Linked DNA regions of Homo sapiens: all the other regions are linked to region 7. Evidence: promoter capture Hi-C in 16 types of primary human blood cells and fetal thymus (Javierre and others, 2016). All regions are on one chromosome and are shown on one strand. The core of a region is centred on a gene start or on the middle of the fragment in contact, and the rest is flanking DNA. Distances in the headings are between cores, read along the strand shown. Region 1 overlaps LOC105373262 (a long non-coding RNA gene). Region 2 overlaps SDCCAG8 (SHH signaling and ciliogenesis regulator SDCCAG8). Region 3 overlaps SDCCAG8 (SHH signaling and ciliogenesis regulator SDCCAG8). Region 4 overlaps LOC105373262 (a long non-coding RNA gene). Region 5 overlaps LOC105373262 (a long non-coding RNA gene). Region 6 overlaps LOC105373262 (a long non-coding RNA gene). Region 7 holds the start of AKT3 (AKT serine/threonine kinase 3).

Region 1 (2,700 bases), core at 1-2,500, 460 kb after region 7:
ATGACCCTATTTCAAAATAAGGTCACATTCTGAGGTTTCAGGAGGATGTGAATTTGGGGGGAACACTTTTCAGCCATTACAGGGTTATATCTAAAAATATATTCTGGAGTGTTTAGAGGTGCTGGATCTTATGATTGCAGCTTGCTCTCAAATGGTTCAGAAAATGATAAAAGGGGATTCAAGAGTTCTTTGTGTACTGTTGAAAGACAAAATTACAATAAATTTAGTTTAAAGATCTTAACTGGCTTTTACATATGATTCTAAAATCCAGCTACACCTCATTCCTCATTCTATATAATAGAATGAGTGCTCCAATAAGCAGATGATATGGTTTGGCTGTGTCCCCACCCAAATCTTATCTTGAATTGTAGCTCCCATAATTCCCACGTGTTGTGGGAGGGACCCAGTGGGAGGTAATTGAATCATGGGGGCGAGTTTTCCCATGCTGTTCTCGTGATAGTGAATAAGTCTCATGAGATCTGATGGTTTTATAAAGGGCAGCTCCCCCTGCACACACTCTCTTGCCTGCCACCATGTAAGATGTGCTTTTGTTCCTCCTTTACTTTGCGCCATGATGGTGAGGCCTCCTCAGCCATGTGGAACTGTGAGTCCATTAAACCTCTTTTTCTTTATAAATTACCAAGTCTCAGGTATGTCTTTATTAGCAGTGTGAGAACAGACTAATATAGCAGAGCAGAGGAGGTTGGCTTTATAGACAGAAAAGGGCTAAGGAAAGCAGAAACAGAACAAAAAGTGGATTGGTTGTTTCAAACTTACTTTCCTTGTAAAGATTAAAGTAGGGAGGCTTCCTTGTCATGCCAACTAAAGTGTCTGGGGATTTGGCTATTATCTCTCTCACTCCTGATTTCTCAGAAGGTCAGATGAACAACTTAGTTTCAGCTTGGGGACATGGCACTTCAACATATGGGACTCTGTTTTGGTTTGGTCATTGGGTCTAGTACAGGAGCTCAGTCCAAACCATATGGCCTCCCATAAATTTTATTTAACAGTACTGTTCTTGCAACTTTTCTATACACTTAAAACTATTTCAAGATAGGCTGGGTGTGGTGGCTTATTTCTGTAATCCCAGCACTTTGGGAGGCTGAGGTGCGAGGATTGCTTGAGCCCAGGAGTTTGAGACCAACCTGGACAACATGGTGAAACCTCGTCTCTACAAAAAATACCAAAATATATATATATATATATATATATATATATATATATATATATATATATATTACCCAAGTGTGGTGGCCTATGCCTGTGGTTCCAGCTACTCGGGAAGCTGAGGTGGAAGGATCACCTGAGCCCAGGAGGTTGAGGCTGCAGTGAGCCATGATTGCGCCACTGCACTCCAGCCTGGGTGACACAGAGTGAGACCCTGTCTCAAAAAAACATAAATTATTTCAAAAAAATTATGTAGTTGTTTTTTTTTTTTTGAGATGGAGTCTCGCTCTGTCACCAGGCTAGAGTGCAGTGGCGCAATCTCGGCTCACTGCAACCTCCACTCCCTGGATTCAAGCAATCCTCCTGCCTCAGCCTCCCAAGTAGCTGGGATTACAGGCACCCACCACCATGCCTGGCTAATTTTTGTATTTTTAATAGAGACGGGATTTCACCATTTTGGCCAGGATGATCTCGATCTCTTGACCTCATGATTCGCCCATCTCAGCCTCCCAAAGTGCTGGGATTACAGGCGTGAGCCATCATGCCTGGCCTGTGTAGATTTTTTAAACCTGTTATTGAAATTATTTGAAGGTTTTCATTGGGAAACATTTGGGAGAGAACAAGGCAAGATTTCAAATGTTTGCACATCCACGGGTTCTGCCACTGTCTTGTTGGCAGACAGGGACCTTGTTTTGTCCCTGGGTCCCTGCAGATTGGGGGTGGCCCTCCTCGAATGAGTAGTGAGAGCTCCCAGTCTTTTTATCTAAATGCTTTGTTCTTTGTCATTTCATTGCTCTTCAGGAGACTTGAGTGTTGATTTGGGGTGGATAAGATACCTCTGCAGAGGGAGCTGATCTAGAAATTGGTCGTGACCATGAGAGGCTTTGTTCAAGTCAAATGGAGGATTGGAAGTCTTGTCTATGTCATAGAACCAAGAACCCAGTGCTGAGCTCCCAGGGCTAGGACTGTTGACTCTGGAGAAATCCACATCCATGCATAGTTCTGAGGACTGCCCATTGCCCTGTATGTTGAATGACTTCAGATTTTTTTAAAAATTCAACTTTAGAGTTACATTTAGTCTTATCACTCTTACTCCATCTTTCCTGGTTTTCTTTTCTCTTCTCTTTCTTCCTTCTTCCTTTTTCCCTCTTCCCTCTTCCTCCTCCTCTTCCACTCCTTCTCCTTCTCTTTCTTTCTCCTTCTCCTTCTTTTTGAGACACTGTCTCACTCTGTTGCCCAGGCTGGAGTGCAGTGGCACAAACATGGCTCACTGCAGCCTTGACCTCAAGGGCTCAAGCAATCCTCTCACCTCAGCCTCCCGTGTAGCTAGGACTACAGGTGTGCACCACCATACCTGGCTAATTTTTAATTTTTTGTAGAAACAGGGGCTCACTGTATTGCCCAGGCGGATCTCAAACTAGTGGGCTCAAGCAATCCTCCTGCCTCAGCCTCACAAGGTGCTGGGATTACAGGCATGAGCCACCACGTTCAGCTTTCTTTCCTTTTTATTCCTATCAAATAAAGTAAAATGCA
Region 2 (2,700 bases), core at 93-2,592, 500 kb before region 7:
TAAAAGCAATAAAGAAAAGTTGAAGAATTGTACCTTTTACTTAGAGAAGACTTCAACATTGCTTCACATCTTCAAGGATTTGACAAATTATTTCAAGGAAAAAGTTAAACACCTGATTTGAGTCTTCAATATGGACAGAACAAGAACAAAGGGATTTAACTACAGCAACTACAAATCACAATAGCCTGAAACAAGAATTTTCTGACAGTAAGGAGATTGAAATTGCTGCAACAGGCCATGGAACCTTTTCCCTGGAAGTTTTAGTTTTAAATAGTAGCAGCAATATGATTTACCTGAAGACCCAGCTCATGGACCTCTGAGGTCCAGTCTTCTATTTGATTCTGGAAGCGTCCTAGAAAGACATCGTTGTATCTTTTAAAAGTGGGTAACAGCAGTGTTAGTCTTTTCTACTTGAAACCTAGCACTTACAGATTAAAGTAAAATCCTGTTCCGTTCTATTCTCTGCTTTGTGTCTTTAAAGCTGTGTACTCTTTTTCAGAAGGTTTTTGGGGAATATGCTAAGATAATGGATGACTTCTCAAGAGCCAGACTTCAGAAACTTATCCAACTACCACCTGCAGTCTCACTTCTCCCTCTACAAAATGACTGGGAGAGGGGCCATTTGGGCCTGCCTTTGGTACATGTAATCACTCGGTCCTGGTGATGACAGAGTTGCTCTCCAGTATTCTTCACACCCTCTTTCAGTCTGTAGACTTAGCACATTCTTGTCCCTGCTCCCTACGAAGACAACAGCAGTTCCAGAGGGCTTGGCTTACCCAGACCAGTATGCTAGACACTGTGGGGGTAATAACTAGGAGACCCAGGTCCTACCCTTAGGGAGTTTATATTCTAGTTGAGGAGTCAGAGTACACATTAGAACATGCCTTAAGAATACTTGCAAAGCAGCATATCGACAAGTGCAAATTAATGTAGTGTGAACTTCATGCTGGCTACAGCCCATGAGAGGGAGAATCTGGTTCCATGTGTGTGATGCAATAAAGCTTTTTTATAGCATCTTCTCTAAGTATGCCCTAAAGCATTGTTCAGCATACTTAGAGAAATTTGTGTTCTTATCGCAGCCTAACCAAGAATTCTGAGAAAATTCTTCAGCCTAACATATGTCTAATAAATCAGCCTCTTTTGTTCTTGTCCTGGATGATGCTTGAATGGGACAAGTAGGATTTATTGGATTATACAAATAATTTAAAATATGTTCATTTAATAAAAGTCTAAGTTATTGATTGAACTTATTTTTCTAAAATGCTGTGCCAAATTACTTTCTTCATCTAAAATCATCATGTTGGTAAAATCACAAAATTAGCAGTAAAAAAATATAATTCAATTTTTCTGCATAAAGAAGCAGTTCCAAATCAATCCAGTGAATAATACCGAGTTGGAGATCATTGGGGCATTTAGCATTTAGTCACGTTGTTAATGATTTAGGCAGTTGTTTTCTGAGGCAGGGTATGTATACCTCATTCATAGAAACACTGACTTTTCAATTAACATGCTCAAAAAAAGAATCTATTAATTTCTGCTTGTTATTTGATTTTCCAACAAAGATGATAATGCTGTTTAACATAATAATTTATTTTACAAAATCAAATGTATAAGCAGAGACAACACATCTGAAAATAGCAATTTAGGTATATTTAGAAGATAAGAGTACAAATAGGAAATAAAACAAGCTTTCTTAGAAATAATATGCCTTATAGGAGAAACATTAAGAAATAAATATTTGCCTTTGGATGGGAATAGAAAACTGTAAACTGGACTCTAAGAATATTCCTGTGTGCCCTGAAGAAATATAATGTTTGCTATATTTTCAGTTTCAGTGGATGACATGTGTTTTGGTTCTTTGAACATTTTTTTGCATGCTTGTTTTGACTGTAAAAGTTGACTTACCAGCCAACTGCCAACTTGCAAAGTGCCTTCTCAGGTACCAACTCTGCAGTTCTGGTAGCTACCAGGTAGTGACAGTTCTTTAAATGTGTCCATGCAGCCCAACAAGCTGAGAGACATTAGACATAAGACAACTACATATGCTTTCTTTTTGTTTATAGTCCAGAAATATTAGTACCTATATCCAATATAAATATCACTAATTACTACATATGCATACATTTAAAAAAATTTATTGTATAAACATAAGCACATTAACAGAAGCCAGTAGTTCCATCACCCAAACAGTGTAAATTGTTTTTATTTTTCTGTTTTACCTTCCACTTTTTGTACATATGCATCTATAATATTTGCAAATATAAATAGATTCTAGTTTTGGTTTTTGCTTTTTTCATTTAACATTATCTTAAGCATTTTTTCTGTGTTGCTCCTTATTCTTCATAGTGATCACTTTACTGTGGCCATTTACATATACCTGTAAGGGAAAATGATAGTAAGTTAGATTTTGAGAACAGCCACTATGACAGATTTAGAGCCCTTTTGCCCTAAACTTCATATGTTGCTTTAATTCAATAACCATATATTATGTGCACTCTACTTAGCTATAATCAATTTCTGTCAGAAAGGAGTATGTAAACCAGGTATGCCAATAAATATATGTCAAAGAGAACATAGTAGCTATCAGCAAAATGCAAAAGGCATGGGAATTTGGGAGGGGAAAGATAACATCCTTGCAGGGTGGTTAGAATGTTGCCTAGGGCCAGCCGTGGTGGCTCATGCCTGTAATCCCAGCACTTT
Region 3 (2,700 bases), core at 42-2,541, 440 kb before region 7:
TTAGTGTTTACTTTTCTTGAATGGCCTGTGAATGACATCATAATATATGTCTTTGGTGTCTGGCTTTTTAAACTACGTGTACTGCTTTTGAGGTTCAGCCAAGTGCTGTATGTGGCATTGTTCCTTGTTATTTCTACCCTTCCTAGCCATGGTTAGACTATACCACAGTTTATCCATTGAACAGTTGATGCACGTTTAAGTTGTTTCCCGTTTTGAGTGATTGTGAATAAATCTTTCAGCCCCATAACTACCAAGAAATTCTTTTTTACTCAGTGTTTTGAGTGGGAATTAAAGCAAACCAATTGGAGAGACTGGCTTGACCATCCTTCACCAGGCTCTCACACCCAGCTGGATTTGACTCTCATTTTGTTATGCTTTGGTAAATTTTCCCCTTATACCTTTCTTACGAAGTATTTTGCCATCTACTTTCTGTTTGGCCATTTTGAACTCCCTGCTAGGGGCAAGGAGCATGTCTTATCTATCTTTATTTGACCCAGTGCCTAGCAGAGTGCCTTTCACATAAGAGAGTTATGATAAATACTTAATGCATTGATTTACATTCTTCTCTAGTTGCTCCTTGAATGCCTACGTGCTTTTTATAATTTTTTCAATCCATTATCGTATTACCTCTAGAGCAGTGTGTCTGATCTTTTGGCTTCCCTGGGCCACACTGGAAGAAGAATTGTGGGCCACACATAAAAGACATTAATATTAATGATAGCTGATGAGCTAAAAAGGAAAAAACAAAAAGGCCCGTGCATAAATCTCATAATGTTTTAAGGAAGTTTATGAATTTGTGTTGGGCCGCATTCAAAACCATCCAGGCCGCAAGCAGAGTAAGCTGTCCAACTGGCGGCCCAGGACAGCTTTGAATGCAGCCCGATACAAACTGGTAAACTTTCTTAAAACATTATGAGATTTTTTTTGTGTGATTTTCTTTTCTTTTCTTTTCCTTTTTTTTTTCCCAGCTCATCAGCAATCATTAGTATTAGTTTTAGTGTATTTTATGTGTGGACCAAGACGATTCTCCCAGTGTGACCCAGGGAAGCCAAAAGATTGCATACCCCTGCTCTAGAGTATTATAAAATAGGATTCCCCAAATAAAAACATTTTAATCCTACCTCTGCCTTTAAATCATTCACTATGCAACCTATAAGCAGACTTCAAATTCTTTGTGACCCTTGGGGATTTTTAAGTAGGTTTTTTTTTTCCAACTGTAAAGTGAGAGGGTTTGATGAAACACATTTGAGGTTCCCTTTTAGTTCTAACATTCTGGGAATTTATAAAAAGCCTACCAAGTCAGAACCTGCAAGAGAGGAGAGAAGGCAACATAGGAAAGTGGAAGGGGAAAGGAGGTTGGAAAGCAAGACTATGTCATGTTTCTAGGCAATGAAACATAATGTATAGTTTCCCAAATAGAGGGAAATTTGGGGAAGGATTCGAGAAACATCAGTTGATGTGTAACTCAACATTTGTTGGTAGAAGTCTTTTAAATTGTTTTATTTTATAAAAAGGACTTCAATTATGACAGTAGTTCTTTTCTATAGTCAATTTATTTTTTATTTTTATTTATCTATTTTGAGACAGAATCTCACTCTATCACTCAGGCTGGAGTTCAGTGGCACAATCTCTGCTCGCTGCATCCTCTACCTCTCAGGTTGAAGTGATTCTGATGCCTCAGCCTCCCAAGTAGCTGGGATTACAGGCATGCACCACCACGCCCAGCTAATTTGTGTATTTTTAGTAGAGATGGGGTTTTGCCTTGTTGGCCATGCTGATCTCTAACTCCTGGCCTTAAGTGATCTGCCCACCTTGGCCTCCCAAAGTGCTGGGATTACAGATGTGAGCCACCGTGCCTGACCTATAGTCAATTTAGAATATCAGTAATTAGGCAGCTTATTCTAAAGAATGATGGTGAGATTGACAACCCCTTTACATTGGGGAACTGTAAGTACCAGTTTGTGATGGGTAGTTTCAGTTGTGACTGTTATCTTGGTATAATTATTAATAGTGCCCCTTTCACTTTCAGATGGGTATTGGTGTTGGAGAATGCATTTATGTCACCCAATTGTTAGGGGTTGCAGAGCCCCAGATTTCTATCTCTGGCTCCTGCCCCGGCAGGGGGTCTGACTTGGGGATGGTCTGACAGGGCTTTTTGTTTTTTTAGCTGACTCCTTTAGCAGCACGGTCTCCAGCTGGCAGAGCCATTAGAACCATTCTCTTCTAAGCACCTTTTTCTAACACGTCTGAAAAGTTTTTGCCTCCTCTCGTAAGACTTAAGCAGATTCTCCAGCTACACGTTAAGATAGCAGCCTTCCTTTCCCCTATGACAAGAGTATAACAACATCCAATCATGAAATATTCACCACCCACTTCCTGTGTGCCAAGCACTGAGGCTGGGCTGAGGGTATAGAGAGATAAAGATGACAAACGAAGCAGACATGTTAAACAATAACTAAAGTGTGATAAATACTATCTTTGTACGATGTACACAACATATATTGAGGTCATTGAGGGAAGAATAGTTAATTCAGGAGAGAGGAAGGAGAGGGGAAGAATTTTGAGTTAGGCCTGAAGCGGGTAGTTGTATGTATACATCTTACAGGGGGATTGAGTGGGCAGGTGGAGGGGCTTTCCAGGAAGAGGAAGAGACATGTGCAGTGATCCATGGCCAGAAAATACATGGTGTGACTGGGGAGG
Region 4 (2,700 bases), core at 188-2,687, 400 kb after region 7:
CAGAGAAACATGTGAACAAAACCTTCTGGGATGGGCCACATTATTAAACAGAGGGCAGGGAAGCAAGAGGAGCAGAACGTTCTAGAGGAAGAGGCCTGCTTGGGCAAATCACTAAAGAAGTGTCCAAAGCACACTCAGGAAAAACTGCAGGTGAGGAAACCAATAAACAAACACACCCAACCTCGATCTTCACAGCCCTGCAAAAATTCTCGTGAAACCAAACTGGTTTGACGTTCACAAAGAAGATACACAAAAGACACCTGAGATGGAAGCGCAGCCAACATCCTGTGAATTTCTCCCCAAGACTTGAGCATTTGAGTCATTGGTTGGGAAAGGAGTTTAGGACTAAAGATACAGATTGTAGAATCATTGGCTTTCAGGCAGTTGGGGAAGTTTTGAAGAAGGGAGACTGTGCCGAGTCCAGGGAAGATGGGTAGGACCCTGAATGCTAGTTCCCAAGCATGGCCACGGAACTGGGTTAAGGTAGAGGCATGGAGGAGAAGCTCATTATGTAAAACTGGCTTTTTTTAAAATTATTATTATACTTTAAGTTTTAGGGTACATGTGCACAATATGCAGGTTTGTTACATATGTATACATGTGCCATGTTGGTGTGCTGCACCCATTAACTCATCATTTAACAGGTATATCACCTAATGCTATCCCTCCCCCTCCCCCCACCCCACAACAGCCCCCGGTGTGTGATGTTCCCCTTCCTGTGTCCAAGTGTTCTCATTGTTCAATTCCCACCTATGAGTGAGAACATGCGGTGTTTGGTTTTTTGTCCTTGCGATACTTTGCTGAGAATGATGGTTTCCAGCTTCATCCATGTCCCTACAAAGGACATGAACTCATCATTTTTTATGGCTGCATAGTATTCCATGGTGTATATGTGCCACATTTTCTTAATCCAGTCTATCGTTGTTGGACATTTGGGTTGGTTCCAAGTCTTTGCTATTGTGAATAGTGCCGCAATAAACATACGTGTGCATGTGTCTTTATAGCAGCACGATTTATAATCCTTTGGGTATATACCCAGTAATGGGATGGCTGGCTTTTTTTTTTCTCACCTGCAGCGCATGGCACCCTGCCTTCCAGAGACAAGGTTCCCAACAACTGTGCTGAATGAATGGAGGAAAAATGAACCCAAACCAGGAATACAAATCCTTGTGTGTGAACATAAACCTACTTCCAAAATTCTTGAGGAATCCCTAACTCAAGTCCCCCAAGTCCTGTTTGGTTGTGCACAGAAAGAGATATTACAAGAGGAGCCGTGGGAACCTGAAAAAATGAATGGGGAGTGGCAGTCCCTTCTTATTAATGTGATCAAGACCAATAAATGTATATTGTAATTGTAAATTCTTTCTGGACTCCACATTTCTCCAAAACCTAAGGATGTCTCCAATTATCTCGAGAAAGAAACGTCATAAGATTCTCAAGACTAAAGTAATGTTAATTGATATTCATGCCATGGGAATGGAGAGCGTGCGCTTACTAAGCAGCATCTTGAGGGAAGGCACCATACAAAATCAAACAACCGTTCAGGAATAGTAAATAGCTTCTATTACTGTTGTTTAGGCCACTCAGTCTTGTTATGGCAGCCCTAGTACAAGAATACAATGTACAGCAGTATTAATCATTAGTTGCTGTTGTTGTTTTCAAACAAAAGAGAAGAATAACTTTCTTTTTTGTCGTTTTTTTTGTTTTGTTTTGAGACAGAGTCTCGCTCTGTTTGCCAGGCTGGAGTGCAGTGGCAGGATCTTGGCTCACTGCAACCTCTGCCTCCCTGATTCAAGCAATTCTCCTGCCTCAGCCTCCCAAGTAGCTGGGACTATAGGCGCCTGCCATCGCGCCCAGCTCGTTTTTGTATTTTTAGTAGAGACAGGGCTTCGCCATGTTGGCCAGGCTGGTCTCAAACTCCTGACCTCAGGTGATCCACCTGCCTCGGCCTCCCAAAGTGCTGGGATTACAGGCGTGAGCCACACGCCTGGCCAAGAAGAATAACTTTGAAGTTTAGATATACAATTCAAAATTAGAAAAAATGTTCATGTATGAACTAAAATTTACACTTATGAAACAAAAATATTATACCTCACTATTCACATCCTGTTTTCCTGTTTTAACCTTTAAACACAAAGGAAAACTCCAAGTTGTCAGATAGAACTGGGGTAAATGTTTTGCATAAAGGACCAGACAAGGGTATCCTTTATCTGAAATGTTTTGGACCGGAAGTGTTTTGGATTTTGAATTTTTGGGGATTTTTGGAATATTTGCAATCTATACTGGTTCACCATTCCTAATCTAAAAATCTAAAATTCAAAATGCTCCAATGAGCATTTCTTTTGAGCACCATGTCAGCACTTAAAAAGTTTTGAATTTTGGAGCACTTCAGATTTTGGATTTTCAAATTAGGGGTACTCAACCTGTAATAAATATTTTGGCTTTGCAGGCCATATGATCTCTTGTAAATACTCAATTTTGCTGTTGTAGCAATGTATGAACAAATGGGTATGGCTATGTTCTAATAAAACTTTATTATAGACACTAAATAATAATAATAATAGCTCCTATTGATTAAGTGCTTGCCATGTTCTGAGCAGAGCTAACTGCTTTAACATTTGGTTAAGTGCTGGGCCAAGAGCTCAGAATATGATTAGGAAAATGACACAACCTCTACCTCCTTACTTCCTGTACACTTTC
Region 5 (2,700 bases), core at 126-2,625, 380 kb after region 7:
TCCCAGACTCAGGAGAGACAAGGAACAGGGGGATGGGGCAGGAGGGGGAGGTAGGAAGAGAAGGCGAGGCATGGGCACATTAGCAGGGAGCCAAGCAGGACAAGGGGTCAGAAGAAGGGTGGAGAGAGGATGCAAAGGATAGGTCTGAGGCTGGGGAGTGACATGTGACGTGGAGCTGGACGTGTCATGTGTGATCATGCATCCATCTTTTTTCTTTTAAGAGATGAGGTCTTGCTCTGTTGCCCAGGCTGGAGTGCAGTGCCATGATAACAGCTCACAACAGCTTTGAACTCCTGGGCTCAAGTCATCCTTCTGCCCCAGCCTCCCCACGAGCTGAGATTACAGGTGCACTCCACTATGCTGGACTAATTTTCTTTGTTTGCGGCAGAGATGGAGGTCTCACTATGTTTCCCAGGCTGCTCTCAAACTGCTGGCCTCAAACAATCCTCCTGCCTCAGCCTCCCAACATGCTGGGATTATTAGACACGCATCTGTCCTTTAAATATGCATATTCTCTGTCCTTAAAATAGGGCTGGGAGCAGCTGTGGCAGTGAGAATACCGTCCCACTCATCCACCCACTCACTCCTTCGCTCCCTTAGCAGGCAGTTATCAAATCTTCACTTCATGCAGACAACGTGTTGGGGACAGAATGATGGGCAAAGCAGACAGTCCATAGCCTCCAGAGAGTCCACGGCGGGAGAAAACCCTCCATATAACAGTCCTAGCTGCATAGACGCTCCATCCGGCAGGTGCTAAGAAGGGAAAGGAGAGGGGCTTCCAGCGGGCACGGGCTGGAGAGTCCACCCCCAGTCTCCCCTGCTGCCACCTTTCTTCGGTGACTTCACTGTCCTGAATGGCCAGGCCTCTTCCTCCCTGAGGAGGGAAAAAGAGCAGAAAACCAATGATCTGTGTGATATCTGGACACTGGTGATATCTGGGCCTCAGACCCAGAACAGCTGGGCCAGGCTTCAATGACAGGGGTCCAGGGATATGGCCCAGGAGCCCGGTGAGTTTCTGCCCCGTCCCACCTTCCCCAGGTGGGAATAACAAAAGTAACGCTGCTTCCCTGAGTGCTTCATGGAGTCCTCACAGACGAGGGCTGGTGGATCAGGAGTTACATACTCCATTTCATAGATTAGGAAACTAAGACCAGACAGGGCAAGAAACCTGGCCAAGGTTTCACAATTGCTCAGAGGTGAAGTTGGAAGCTGACTCAACAGCCCAGTGGCCTCCTATCCCCGGGTGCGCTGCCTCCGGACCTGGCTTCCTGGGGCCCTGGCCAGTTTGCTTGGAGGTTTCCCAGACGCCCTGTTCGCCCTCCCAGCCAGCCACAGCCGAGTCCTGGGTGAGCCCATGAGAAGAGGCCCCAGGACCCTCTAAAGCAGGCACTGGGGGAGACCCAAGCAGAGTCAAATGCTGAGCTCTTGGCCGGGGGGCAGGAATCTCCAGCTCCCTCCTCCCTTTTGGCAGCAACAAGTGTGAGGGTTCCCCTCCCCCCGACCCCTATCCATTGTAGCAGGGCGCTGCAGAGCAGCTGGCAAACACAGAACCAAACACCTGTGTGCCAGATATTACAGCTGCATGTGTGAAACGCGATCCGTCTGCAGCGCCTGTCACATGGCGGGTCCAGTTGTTGCACTCGGGGCGGGTTGGAAAAGGAACCATGGGAGAGAACTTTCAGTGGCAGAATTTCAAAGCTCAGGCACCCACCGTCCCCTTCCTCCCACCCCCAGCATTTTATTCGCTCCTCTTTTTTGGCACTCGGCATTTCCGGCTGAGTTTGCCTTTCACTAATTCCCCAGCGGTGACAGTGCTGGGAGTTGAATCCTCCGCAGGGTGACACACACTGCACGACAATAATACAGCTACTTAGCGTGCTCCGAGGGCTCTTCATCTTCAAAGCAGTTGTTTCACGACTTGCTCCAAGGGCTGCACATCTGGCGGAAACGTTTGTGGATCCCGGGTTGGTGGGGTGCCTTCAAAGCTGGGGTGCCTGGAGGACACCCAGAGACATCCTGCAGTTGGGCTTAGCACCTCCTCCCTGGTGAGGTCTCATCCCCGTCGCTGCCAGTGTGTCTATTCCAAAGTCTCGGGCTCTTCACCTGCTTCGCAGAGACATGTTCGTTTTCTGCCAGAATCACTTTCAGGGCTTTGGTTGATGTCACCAATTAGCCTGCATATGGAAAAGGGGGAAAAATAGGACATTTCACAGGTGCTAAAGAGGGTGGGAAGGGGAAGGAGACAAGAAGAAAGGAACCAGTTGTTTCCGGATATTAACTCACAGAAGGTCTTTCCCCAGAAGGTGGCTTTCCCCAGAAGTGGGATAAAAGATTTTCACCCACTACCAGCTAGGAGGCATTTACCATGGTGGAACAGAAAAGAGGAAATAAAATCCAAAATAGAAAAGCATACCTCAAATATATCCACCTGACCTGAATACCACAAACTCCGTGAGACCTCAAATTTCTTGGGGTTTTGGACTAGCCAGGAAATAGGAGATTGTTATTACATGTAAGAGACACCTGTCTATCAAAACCAAGTGCTTTACACAAGTTATCCTGTTTATTCATCAATCAATCAAGTAACATTTATTCAGTCAATCCTCACTACAACCTTTTGTGGTAGTTTCTATTATTACTCCCAATTTACAGGGAAAAAAGTCAAGGTTCAGGAAATTAAGTGAAATTTAGTGAATTTGT
Region 6 (2,700 bases), core at 38-2,537, 430 kb after region 7:
GGAATGTGGAGCATTTTTTCATATGATTGTTGGCCACATGGAGGTCTTCTTTTTAAAAGTGTCTGCTCATGTCCTTTGCCCATTTTTTAATGAAGTTGTTTGTTTTTTGCTTGTAAATGTAAGTTCCTTACAGATTCTGGATATTAGACCTCTGCTGAATGCATAGTTTGCAAATATTTGCTTCCATTCTGTAGGCTGTCCATTTACTCTGTTGATAGTTTCTTTCATTATGCAGAAACTCTTTAGTTTAATTATATCCCATTTGTCAATTTTTGTTGTTACTGATATGGCTCGGCTCTGTGTCCTTACCCAAATCTCACCTTGAATTGTAATAATCCCCATGTGTCAAATGGGGATTATTTGGACCAGGTGGAAATAAGTGAATCATGGGTGTGGTTTCCCCAAGCTTTTCTCATGAGAGTCAGTGAGATCTCACAGGATCTGATGGTTTTCTAAGCGTCTGGCATTTCCCCTACTGGCACTCATTCTCTCTCCTGCTGCTCTATGAAGAGGTGCCTTCTGCCATGATTGTAAGTTTCCTGAGGCCTCCCCAGCCCTGTGGAACTATGAGTCAATTAAACCTCTTTTCTTTATATTTAAATTATCTAGTCTCGGGTATTTCTTCATAGCCGCGTGAGAATGAGCTAATACAGTTACAATCGCTTTTGATGTCTTTGTCATGAAATCTTTGCCAAGTTCTATGTCCAGAATGGTATTTCTGAGGTGATCTTCCAAGGTTTTTATAGTTTCAGGTTTTACATTTAAGCCTTTAATCCGTCTTGAGTTGATTTTTGTACATGGTGTGAGGTTGGGGTCTAGTTTCAGTCTTCTGCATATGGCTAGCTAGTTCTCCCAGCACAAGGAGAGTGCTGGGAGAACAAGGAGTCCTTTCCTGATTCCTTGTTTTTTTCAGCTTTGCTGAAGATCGGATGGTTGTAGGTGTGCAGCATTATTTCTATAAATCCCTTTCTAATGAACAATTCTCAGGTTGTTAATAGGTAAATGTAACTCCTGGGCCCAGCCCCTAGGGCTAAGTTGGCTGTTCACATTAAAATGGTGATCCTGGAGTCTGGCAATGTTAACAATTAAACAACTGTGCTCAATCCTATAGTCCCAACCCTTTGGGAGATGGAGGCCAGCCTAGAAAACATAGCGAAGCCTCATCTCTACAGAAATAAAAAAAATAGCTGGGGCTGGGCACGGTGGCTCACGCCTGTAGTCCCAGCACTTTGGGAGGCCGAGGCAGGCAGATCACCTGAGGTTGGGAGTTCGAGACCAGCCTGGCCAACATGGAGAAACCCCATTTCTACTAAAAATACAAAATTAGCTGGGCATGGTGGGGCGTGCCTGTAATCCCAGCTACTTAGGAGGCTGAGGCAGGAGGATTGCTTGAACCTGGGAGGCGGAGGTTGTGGTGAGCAGACATCATGCCATTGCACTCCGACCTGGGCAACAAGAGCGAAACTCCATCTCAAAAATAAATAAATAAATACATAAATAAATAGCTGGGCATGGTGGTATACTCCTCGCTACTCAGGAGGCTGAGATGGAAGGCTTGAATGAGTCCAAGGTAACAGTGGGCTATGATTGCTCCCCTGCCCTCCAGCCTGGGCAACAGAGCAAGACACTGTCTCTAAAACAATAACATCAAAACGAATGGTGCTGTTATTTCTCTTCTTATCCACACATCTCTCATCCTTGGTTTTAAACATTTTTCAATGTCTCGTATTCATATTGTTAGACCTAGTAATTCTCCTGCTATGCTATAATCTCTCCTAAGTGTGAGAATTAACGTAACCGCTGGCATCCGAATTTTTTGCTGAGAAAAAGATGCTATAGTCAATGATTGGGTAGGAAATGAGCCCTACGCTTAAGAGTCTGCTTGTCAAGCGGCCTTGCCACTGCCCAGGATGCGGTCACCGCTCTGCATTACTCAGGAGAAGGACCAGAGAGTGGAGAGTAGAAATGGGAAGGAGGAAGAGGATCACTAAGTGGCACCATCTCTGGACCCCCAAAATCTTCAGCAGTGTCTTCTAAACACAGTACTGCTTCTTGTGAGTGATTTCCTGTTGTGAAATCCAAAGAAGGAGCTCCGTTTTATGGCAGGATCGACATGGTCTAGGAGCAGAAGGCAGCCCTGAGCAGGCCACGCCCCCATCAATTGGCAGAAAGCTTCAGGATGACTGTGGCTTCCACCAGAATTGGAGCTTCTGAGACAATGTCACCTGGAATGTCATGATCTCAACTGACATCTGGGTTTCTCGGAGATTCGCCCAGGATTTGGTGTACAAGGGTGTTTATCACAGAATGACATATAACATTGAACAATTGGAAACCTAAAGGTACAACAGTGATCCGGCTACATGAATTAAGGGTGAGCTAAATGAGGAAATAATATGCAGCCGTTAAAAATTATGTTTTCAAAGAACATTTAATGACTTGGGTAAAACCTTCTGCTATAAGGTCAAGGAAAGACAAAAAATTCAGAATATTACTGTTGGTATTAGTTCTTTTTTTTTTATAAGTGCCCTTTTCTTGACTTAAAAATAAGACTAAAATTTTAACATAGATGACCCCAGAGTTTGTGGGATTATAAGAGTTTGTGACTTTTTTTTTCTTCTCTGTGATTTCCAAATGCTCCATAATGAGTGGAGTAATTTTAAAATCAAGGAAAATAAACATGACTTTTAAAGAGTGGGA
Region 7 (2,700 bases), core at 194-2,693:
ATAGGTTTCACTGTTGACTTTCTATTTGGAAACTTCATCAATTGCAAACTACCAGGCTTTCAACCAAAATGCCACATTGGTGAAATGAGTTGGTTTTATTTTCATAACAACATTATTTTGATGGAAGAAATGTGAGCATCCCAGCTTTGACTTGTGGGTAAGCATTTCCTCTGCTTTCAGAACATAAACAGTAAATACCGGTATTGGAAAAACCTGGCCCCAACGAGATTCTTTATCTCTAGGCTAACTGTAGATTCCCGGGAAATCCCAAACAAGGGATGGTGACCCCGCCTCGGCGTCAGGGTCAACACAGCAACCAGCTAGGCTTCAACTTTGGGCTCTGAAGGGCCCCACCGGCATCATGGCTGATGCGGACCGATGCGCCGGAGGAGGTGGACAAGGAAGAGGCTGGTCTGTTTACTTGCAGCCAGAGCTGCCGCCGCCGCCAGCAGCGACAGCATCACTGGATCAGCCAAACCCAGCATCTTCCGCACATTTCTATTCTTAGCACACAACTCCCAAGCGGATCAAAACCCCACTACTATTAAAAACACAGACAAGCACGTTACCCACCTCCCACACACACACCCCCCCCCCCACCCCACCAGTGCCGTCTTTTCCTGCGCGCCAGTGGCGGGGAAGGGTGGGGGAAGGAAGGAGACCCCGGGGACGCCTGTGCATCCTCGCCTTCACCCCACCCCACGCGCAGACAGCCTCAGCGCCAGGGCGCGCGGCAGACGGCTCCCTCCCCCCAACCCAAACACACTGACACCGGCGCTCCACGCGTTATATAACCTCGCCGCCGCCCCCGGTCCAGGCGGGCGCCCCCTCCCCACGCCGCGCGGCCCGGGCGGGGAGGGGCGAGGGGAAGGAGCGAGAGTTGCGCAGACAGCAGGCGCCGGGCCGGGGCAGCCCAGACACAGACGGTACCGCTAGGCCGGGAACACCCCTCCCCCGGCCCGCTGCGCACCGCCGCCCCCCAGCTTTCCCCGGAAAGCGGGGGGTGTCGGTGTCAACCGCGCTGGGCATCCCCCGGCCTCCACACCCACACCCGAAGCCTCCGGTGACCCAGCCCCCGCCCACGCCCCCGGCGCGGTGACAACCCAGAAGCCCCCGCCTCACCCCACCCCGCCGCCATCCCCCGCCTGAGGGAGGCAGGGAGGGCGGACCGGGGCCCGGGGCCCGGAGGGAGTGGAGGCCAGGCGGGGAGGGGGCTAGAGTTGGGGGCGGTGGCTGTTACCTGCAACGGCGGCGGCGGCGGTGGCGGCCCCGCAGCTGCTCGGGCGGCGGCGGAGGATGGAGCCGGGGGGGGGCGGGGGGAGGAGAGGGGGCGACTCGGGGGTCCCCCCTCCCTCCTCCTCCCCTCCTGTCCTCCCCCCACCCCACAGAGCCTCTGGCCTCCTGGAGCCCGGTGCGGCCGGCGGGAGGGCAAGCGAAGGGCTGCAGGGGAGGGAGGGAGGGAGCCGGCCGGGCCGGGCCGCGGAGCTGGAGCGGGAGGCGGCGGCGGCGGCGGCGGCGGCGGGAGGGGGAGGGAGGAGAGAGGGCGGCGGCGGGGAGAGGAGGAGGCGGAGACTCTACATGGGAATCGGATATCGGCTACAAATTCATCACCAGAAAACACCGCTCGGGCGGGGGCCGGGTCACGCCGGCGGGGCGGCGGCTCTGGGCCCCGGGGCGCGCCCGGCGCGGGGAGGGGTTCTGCGGCCTCCTCCCGGGCTGCGCCTCGCTGAGGGGACCCCCCGCCGCCTCCCCGCCCCCTCCTTCCTCCCGCTCGGGGCCGCCGCCGATCGGTTCTCGCCGTCGCCGCGGGGCTTGTTGTTGACTTTGAGGAAAACTCCTGACGTCAGGGGCTGGCTCTCGGCGACTGGCGGGAGCGGCTTCCCCGCGTCCCCGGCCCTGCCCGCCGCCTCTGCTCCCCTCCCTGCCCGGCCCTCGTCCTCAGGCTTCCCCGCGCCCCCAAACCAGCGGTGCCCCGCGCCCCCTCTCCTCTCGCGAGAACATCCCCCTAGCCAGCCAGAGCCGGGAGCGGGGGCAGTCGCTCCCGGGCGGGAAGTTCTGGGTTTCCCCCTCGCCCGCGTGGCCCTTGGCGGGCACCCGAGGCCCGGGAGCGGAGGCTCCTCGCCCAGCCGCTTCCTCGGCGCATCCGCCCACCCGCCCTGGCCGCGGACGCGCGCGCCGCCAGGCCCCGGGCGTCTCCTCCAGTCCGCCGCGGCCCCTTGGGGAGATGGGCCCGGCGCGAGGGCTCGCACCTGGAAGCCCACGAAGTGGGCGGTGCCCAATGAGGTAGGGACCGGAGAGCGCGGAGCAGTCCAGAAGCCGACCCCACCCCCTGCACCTCGGGGAAGAGGGAACCCGGGTCAGCCCGTAGCAAGAATCATTCCTGACTATCCCAGGAGACCACGGCAGACCAAAAACACCTCTCTGAACAGCCTTCCGCACCGCTCGCTGCAAGCATTCGTCCACACACGGTACACAGATTGCGGGCGGATCGTAATTCACTCTTGAAATCACACCCTTTTTAGGGATATTCGTTTTCAATGACTTTGGGAAAGCCACGAGGTACTACATTTACTACGAAGAGACCGTTTCTTTATTTTGAAGTCAGTGACTCCTGAGACTGCATTGGGGACAACTTTTTTGCACAATGACCATATTTTACCATGCAGCGCACTTCAGAAAATTATAAAAGTTTACAAGTTT

What was found. The method cuts DNA at HindIII sites, captures the fragments that hold promoters and counts their contacts. A CHiCAGO score of 5 or more calls a contact.
Region 1: a fragment that was not itself captured here is called in contact with the fragment with the promoter of AKT3 in region 7 in 2 of 17 cell types (monocytes and non-activated CD4 T cells); the score reaches 8.2 in monocytes.
Region 2: a fragment that was not itself captured here is called in contact with the fragment with the promoter of AKT3 in region 7 in 6 of 17 cell types (non-activated CD4 T cells, fetal thymus, erythroblasts and 3 more); the score reaches 7.1 in non-activated CD4 T cells.
Region 3: a fragment that was not itself captured here is called in contact with the fragment with the promoter of AKT3 in region 7 in 1 of 17 cell types (endothelial precursors); the score reaches 6.5 in endothelial precursors.
Region 4: a fragment that was not itself captured here is called in contact with the fragment with the promoter of AKT3 in region 7 in 1 of 17 cell types (total B cells); the score reaches 6.8 in total B cells.
Region 5: a contact is called between a fragment that was not itself captured here and the fragment with the promoter of AKT3 in region 7, in 1 of 17 cell types (total B cells). The highest score is 6.2, in total B cells.
Region 6: a contact is called between a fragment that was not itself captured here and the fragment with the promoter of AKT3 in region 7, in 2 of 17 cell types (M1 macrophages and monocytes). The highest score is 6.0, in M1 macrophages.

The regions. Positions count from the first base shown.
Region 1 is chr1:244,308,887-244,311,586 of GRCh38, forward strand. The region is part of intron 1 of LOC105373262 (a long non-coding RNA gene); the gene reads right to left. Among named protein-coding and RNA genes, the nearest start is that of SPMIP3, 42 kb to the right of the region's middle. The HindIII fragment of the contact is 3,025 bases long and covers 1-2,700 here.
Region 2 is chr1:243,350,549-243,353,248 of GRCh38, forward strand. The region is part of intron 12 of SDCCAG8 (SHH signaling and ciliogenesis regulator SDCCAG8); the gene reads left to right. Among named protein-coding and RNA genes, the nearest start is that of MIR4677, 5.7 kb to the left of the region's middle. The HindIII fragment of the contact is 687 bases long and covers 1,000-1,686 here.
Region 3 is chr1:243,411,644-243,414,343 of GRCh38, forward strand. The region is part of intron 13 of SDCCAG8 (SHH signaling and ciliogenesis regulator SDCCAG8); the gene reads left to right. Among named protein-coding and RNA genes, the nearest start is that of MIR4677, 67 kb to the left of the region's middle. The HindIII fragment of the contact is 4,250 bases long and covers 1-2,700 here.
Region 4 is chr1:244,249,115-244,251,814 of GRCh38, forward strand. All of the region lies in intron 2 of LOC105373262 (a long non-coding RNA gene), which reads right to left. Among named protein-coding and RNA genes, the nearest start is that of SPMIP3, 100 kb to the right of the region's middle. The HindIII fragment of the contact is 4,130 bases long and covers 1-2,700 here.
Region 5 is chr1:244,230,102-244,232,801 of GRCh38, forward strand. LOC105373262 (a long non-coding RNA gene) reads right to left here. Exons shown (of 3, transcript XR_949343.3): 3 at 647-2,174. Among named protein-coding and RNA genes, the nearest start is that of SPMIP3, 120 kb to the right of the region's middle. The HindIII fragment of the contact is 4,760 bases long and covers 1-2,700 here.
Region 6 is chr1:244,278,292-244,280,991 of GRCh38, forward strand. All of the region lies in intron 1 of LOC105373262 (a long non-coding RNA gene), which reads right to left. Among named protein-coding and RNA genes, the nearest start is that of SPMIP3, 73 kb to the right of the region's middle. The HindIII fragment of the contact is 1,766 bases long and covers 405-2,170 here.
Region 7 is chr1:243,848,800-243,851,499 of GRCh38, forward strand. It overlaps AKT3 (AKT serine/threonine kinase 3), which reads right to left and starts at 1,444. Exons shown (of 14, transcript NM_005465.7): 1 at 1,241-1,444. RefSeq lists an enhancer at 353-853. The HindIII fragment of the contact is 10,171 bases long and covers 1-2,700 here.